Regions from separate parts of the Homo sapiens genome. Here region 1 is linked to region 2. The links are contacts of gene promoters, found by promoter capture Hi-C in human tissues and cell types (Jung and others, 2019). All regions are on one chromosome and are shown on one strand. The core of a region is centred on a gene start or on the middle of the fragment in contact, and the rest is flanking DNA. Distances in the headings are between cores, read along the strand shown.

The links. The method cuts DNA at HindIII sites, captures the fragments that hold promoters and counts their contacts. A contact is called where the count stands out against the background at its distance.
Region 1: a contact is called between a fragment that was not itself captured here and the fragment with the promoter of PSMB4 in region 2, in 1 of the 25 tissues and cell types used here (hippocampus).

The regions. Positions count from the first base shown.
Region 1 is chr1:151,095,060-151,097,768 of GRCh38, reverse strand. All of the region lies in intron 4 of GABPB2 (GA binding protein transcription factor subunit beta 2), which reads right to left. Among named protein-coding and RNA genes, the nearest start is that of GABPB2, 26 kb to the right of the region's middle. The HindIII fragment of the contact is 4,570 bases long and covers 1-2,709 here.
Region 2 is chr1:151,398,302-151,401,001 of GRCh38, reverse strand. It overlaps PSMB4 (proteasome 20S subunit beta 4), which reads right to left and starts at 1,429. Exons shown (of 7, transcript NM_002796.3): 1 at 1,275-1,429; 2 at 815-1,021; 3 at 414-560; 4 at 157-238. The coding sequence starts at 1,414. RefSeq lists a silencer at 702-859 and enhancers at 628-1,349, 1,700-1,749, 1,350-2,072. The HindIII fragment of the contact is 13,788 bases long and covers 1-2,700 here.

The DNA.
Region 1 (2,709 bases), core at 168-2,667, 300 kb after region 2:
CTCACTCTGCCACCCAGGCTGGAGTGCAGTGGCACGATCTTGGCTCATTGCAACCTCCACCTCCTGGGTTCAGGCAATTCTCATGACTCACCCTCCCGAGCAGCTGGGATTACAGGCACACGCCACCACGCCCAGCTAATTTTTTGTATTTTTAGTAGAGGGTTTTGCCATGTTGCCCAAGTTGGTCTAGAACTTGTGGGCTCAGGCAAATCGCCCACCTTGGCCTCCTAAAGTGGTAGGATTACAGGCTTGAGCCACCGTGCCCAGCCCAAGAACACTTATTAGCTTTAGTTACACAGTTACTGAACAGCATATTCCACTCCCATCCCAATGCTCTATCAATTATAACTAGTTCCGGTACACAATGTCCCAGGGAGATCAGAGTTCTCATTAAGACCACCATTTTTTTTCAGACCAGGCCAACAGAGTTGTTAGGTTGCTTTCCAAAGCTTGTTCCTACTTCAGGAAAGCAAAGGTGTATCATTTGCAAAAACTTCTAGACAATTCAATCAACCTCTATGAATCTTGTTTTTTTCATTTGAAAAATGAGGGAGTCAGGCCAGGCACGGTGGCTCATGCCTGTAATCCTACCACTTTGGGAGGCTGAGGCGGGTGGACCACTTGAGGTCAGGAGTTTGAGACCAGCTTGGCCAACATGGTGAAACCCTGTCTCTACTAAATGCAAAAATATCAGCTGGGCGTGGTGGCAGGTGCTTGTAATCCCAGCTACTCGGGAGGCTGAGGCAGGAGAATTGCTTGAACCCAGGAGGCCAAGATTGCGGTAAGCCAAGTTGGTGTCATTATACTCCAGCCTGGGCGACAGAGTGAGACTCCGTCTCAAAAAAAGAAAAAAGAAAAATGAGGGAGTTGACCTGAATAGCCTAAAAAGTAATTTCCAGCACTAACATTTTATGATTAATTATCTACAAGTCAGTGTGCTAGCAAGAGATCCCTGCAGAGTATCTATAGAGAACAATATTCTCTAGAGTTTTGTCCAACTACTTGTTCCATTCGGCCATTGAAAAAATTCCTGAGAGAATATATAACAAGCAAATAAATAAGTGCCAGATTTTAAAGTCTCGCTCCATATGCTGTACTTTTGCTTCCAGGGATATCTGTTCAATTTTGGTGAAAAGTAGCTTATCTTTATTACTTTCAGAAGCAATTTTCTACAAACATAATCACTACTTTAAAAAGTCCAGTTATGAAAGGGCTCTAAACAAAGAATTGAAAGTTCAAGGGACTAACCAGTATATAGACCACCTGTCAATTAAAAAAAAATACTGAAAATGCAGCAGAAATGGCTTGCTTGCTTGCTTTCTCTGTCTCTCTCTCTCTCTTTTTATTTTTTTTTGAGACGGAGTCCCACTCTGTCGCCCAGGCTGGAGTGCAGTGGTGCGATCTCGGCTCACTGCAACCTCCGCCTCCAGGGTTCCTGCCTCAGCCTCCCAAGTAGCTGGGACTATAGGCGCACGCTGCCATGCCCGGCTAATTTCTTTTGTATTTTAGTAGAGACAGGGTTTCATCGAGTTGCCCAGGCTGGCGTTGAACTCCTGAGCTCAGGCAATCCACCCTCCTCAGCCTCCCAAAGTGTTAGGATTACAGGCATGAGCCACCACGCCCAGCCAGAAATGACTGTTTTTCATATATAATTATCCCCTTGACTAAGAGCTTCAAATGAAACAGGTTATCCATTCTTTGGATATTGTGAAATTCCTTTTTTTTTTTTTTTTTGAGAGTCTCACTCTTGTCTCCCAGGCTGGAGTACAGTGGCACGATCTCAGCTCAGCTCACTACAACCTCCACCTCCCAAGTTCAACCGATTCTCCTGCCTCCATCACCCAAGTAGCTGGGATTACAGGCACCCACGACCAAGTCAGCTAATTTCTGTATTTTTAGTAAAGATGAGGTTTCACCATGTTGGCCAGGCTGGTCTTGAAGTCCTGACCTCAGGGGATTCACCCACCTCGGCCTCCCAAAGTGCTAGGATTACAGGCGTGAGCTACCATGCCTGGCCTAAATTCCTTCTTGAATTTGCCCTTTTCCTTTATCCTCCACTAGGACATGAAGTGTTCACAGCACGATAAAATTAAAGATAGGAAATAAAATATTACAATATTACATGATAAACAGACATCTAGTAAGTGCTATGGGAGCACAGAGGAGGGAAGAGTAGTACTGCTACGTGGCGAAATAGTAGCACTTCCTTGGTTCAAGTTCTCATTGGCCCTTGCCTGGCCTAATGAAAGTCACCGTATAGTTATTTAGCATTAAGTGTCTCTCTCATCTGTGTGCCACATTCCAAACAATCATCTTTTTAAACCAAATTTAGTCATATCAGTCCTCTATTTAAAAACTTCTATCCAAATGCATCGCCCACATAATAGTTCAAACTCCTTCACACGCTGTAAAGCATCCCTACATTCAGAATCCAGCCTAACTTTCAAGCTTAGCATCTGCCACTCCCAAACTCTACTTCCTTTGCCCATTCTCTCATCACTCAACTACTTTTTCTTGAACATTCCACGTTCTTTCACACCTCTGTGTCTTTGATTTGCTCTTTTTCTAGGCTAGAATATAGTTTTCTCACTTCTCTGCCTACTTCAATATTCAGTTCAGATTCCACTATTCCCTCCTTTGTGCTCCCATGGCACTTACTAGATATCTATTTATTATGCAATATTATAATATTTTCTTGCCTGTCTTTAC
Region 2 (2,700 bases), core at 180-2,679:
CAACACCTACAGCCCCCAGACTACAAAGAAAACCATCTGCCCAGTAATAGCGATCCCAGCCCATCCCTCATATCAGAATTTCAGGAGAAAAGCAGACAACCACTAATCCATTTCCTTTTGTCTTCCCTTTCCCCCACCTCTAGACTTACTACTTACCTGAGCCAAGTATGCACCATAACCAGTGGCCAGCGAAGGGGCTTCATAGGCTACACCAAGCATGTCCACATAACCGAGGAAGCTAACAGGACACAATGGGTCAAAACTCATTTCACCTTAGATTCATCTTAGCTGAAGAAGGGGACCATGGGGTCTGAGTTAAAGTGGGATTCACTTGGGGAGAAGAGACAGAAGAGATACTACACAGGTACTAGGTTGGGTGGTAAAGGAAATAAGTTATTTGTATTCATATGAACCTCTCTCCATCAGCATAGCCTCCGATGACCATGGTGTTCCACAAAGGGTTCATCTTCGAGCGCCGGCTGTACATGGCCCTGGTCAGCCATGAATGAATAGCTCTAGGACTATAGCTGTGTCCATCTCCCAGAAGCTCCTCATCAATCCTTAAAAGGAATTGGTTGTGAGAAAAGGGAGAGAATTAAGTCGGGGTCTCCACCCATCCCCAAAAGAAGTTACCACACCTTCCCCCATTTTACACCTAATGCCAAAAACTTTATTGCAAACACAGATCGCCCACCTCCAACAACTCTTCCAGTCCCCCGCTGCAACAAGTCCCCCCATCCCATCGAAGGGAATAAAAAACAGGGGACTCCCCTCTCTACTTGGGAACCACTCTCCTGTTCTCTGGATGACTTACACCATCTGGCCGAGAACTTGCTTCAAATACTGGAAATCAGCGTAGTCGCCAGAGGCACCCAGCATGGTACTGTTGTTGACTCGCATAATGCGAGAGATGTTGCGGAAACGAGCCAAGGAGCCGTAGGATCCCAGCATGTCTGCGGCAATCACCACTCCGCCCTCGAACTTAACGCCGAGGACTGAGGTCCCGGTCACCATGGGGTTCCTAAAGAGTGAGAACGGTGGGAGCTGAGAGGGGGGATGGACTGCGCCCTCTTTCCGCGCACTGAGCTGCGCTTCTGATTTTCTATAATTCCTTCCAATTATTCTGCATTCTCCAGGACTCCGCGCCCTGAGCTCCCCTGCCGTTCGCGCGCCCCCGGGGTCCCCGCCTCACCTTCCCGGGCTCTCAAAACCAGCCGGCAGCACCAGGCCCCACGGTCCCTCCCGCTACGCAAACGAAAGCGCCGAGAACTTACTGGGTCCGCGTGATTGGACCTCTGTAAAGTGCAGACGCCGGATCCATGAAGGAATCGGGAGTGGACGGAATGCGGTAAAACTGTCCTGGGGCCGGACCCCCCGCCCAAAGTCCGGACCGCGACCCCAAAAACGCTTCCATCTTAGTCACGGTAGCAGAAAAAATGAAAGCGCTTGCGCCAACGGAAGCGGAAGTGATCCTTCAGTGTCATTTCTTTCTTTTTCCTGTAGACGACTTCCAGCAGCCATGTTGATGAGGTCGTAGCTGAACATGCAGTAATCCTAGGTGGCGACCGAGACAGGGAGTTGAAATTGCCCAACATCGCTTCGCATCGCATCGCATCTCCGTGGAGTTTGGACCAGATCACAGCGTTCTAACACACGATTCAAGGAGGAGGGAGGCATGAAGGTGGGGTGGGGAGGTGGCCACTTAAAGACGCTGATCCTGAGTGAGACGTCACAATTTTTTATTTTATTTTTTATTTTTTTGAGACGGAGTCTCGCTCTGGCCCCCAGGCTGGAATGCAGTGGCGCGATCTCGGCTCACTGCAACCTCCGCCTCCCAGATTCAAGCGATTCTCGTGCCTTAGCCTCCCGAGTAGCTGGGATTACAGGCGCCTGCCACCACGCCTGGCTAATTTTTTGTATTTTTGCTAGAGATGGGGTTTCACCATGTTGGCCAGGCTGGTCTCGAACTCCGGATCTCAGGTGATCCGCCTGCCTCGGACTCCCAAAGTGCTGGGATTACAGGAGTAAGCCGCCTCGCCCGGCCTAGAAGTCACAGTTCTCATGTTCCTTTTGTATCATTATCAAAAAGCCCACATGAAAATATCAGTGAACACAGGATCTCTTACATCTGTACTCCTCAGAGCAGCCCCATGTGGCAGGCATTATTCGACCCATTTGGTAAATAGGAAACCGAGGCTTGCGGTGTAGTGATTTACCCAGTCACACAGCCGATAACGGTAGAACTGAATCTTGAAGCTAGAATAAAAAAAGGAATCAGGGCCGGGTGCGGTGGCTCATGCCTGTAATCCCAGAACTTTGGGAGGCCAAGACGGGAGGATCACTTGAACCCAGGAATTCAAGACCAGCCTTGGCAACATGGTGAGACCTCACCTCTACAAAACAAAACAAAACAAAAAATTAGCCAGGCCTGTAATTCCAGCTACTTGGGAGGGTGAGGTGGGAGAATCGCCTGAACCCGAGGGAGGTTGCAGTGAGCCAAGGTGGCGCCACTGCACTCCAGCCTGGGCAACAGAGCGAGACCCTGTCACAAAAAAAAAAAAAAAAAAAAAAAAAAAAAGAATACACTTGTGTATACCCTGTGGGGTGTGATAGCTCAGGTGGATCAAGCACTCTCTGTGGGACCTTAGACAAGTCTGAAAGTTTCCTTATTGTCAAGGGCCCTTGCCCACCTCTAAAGAA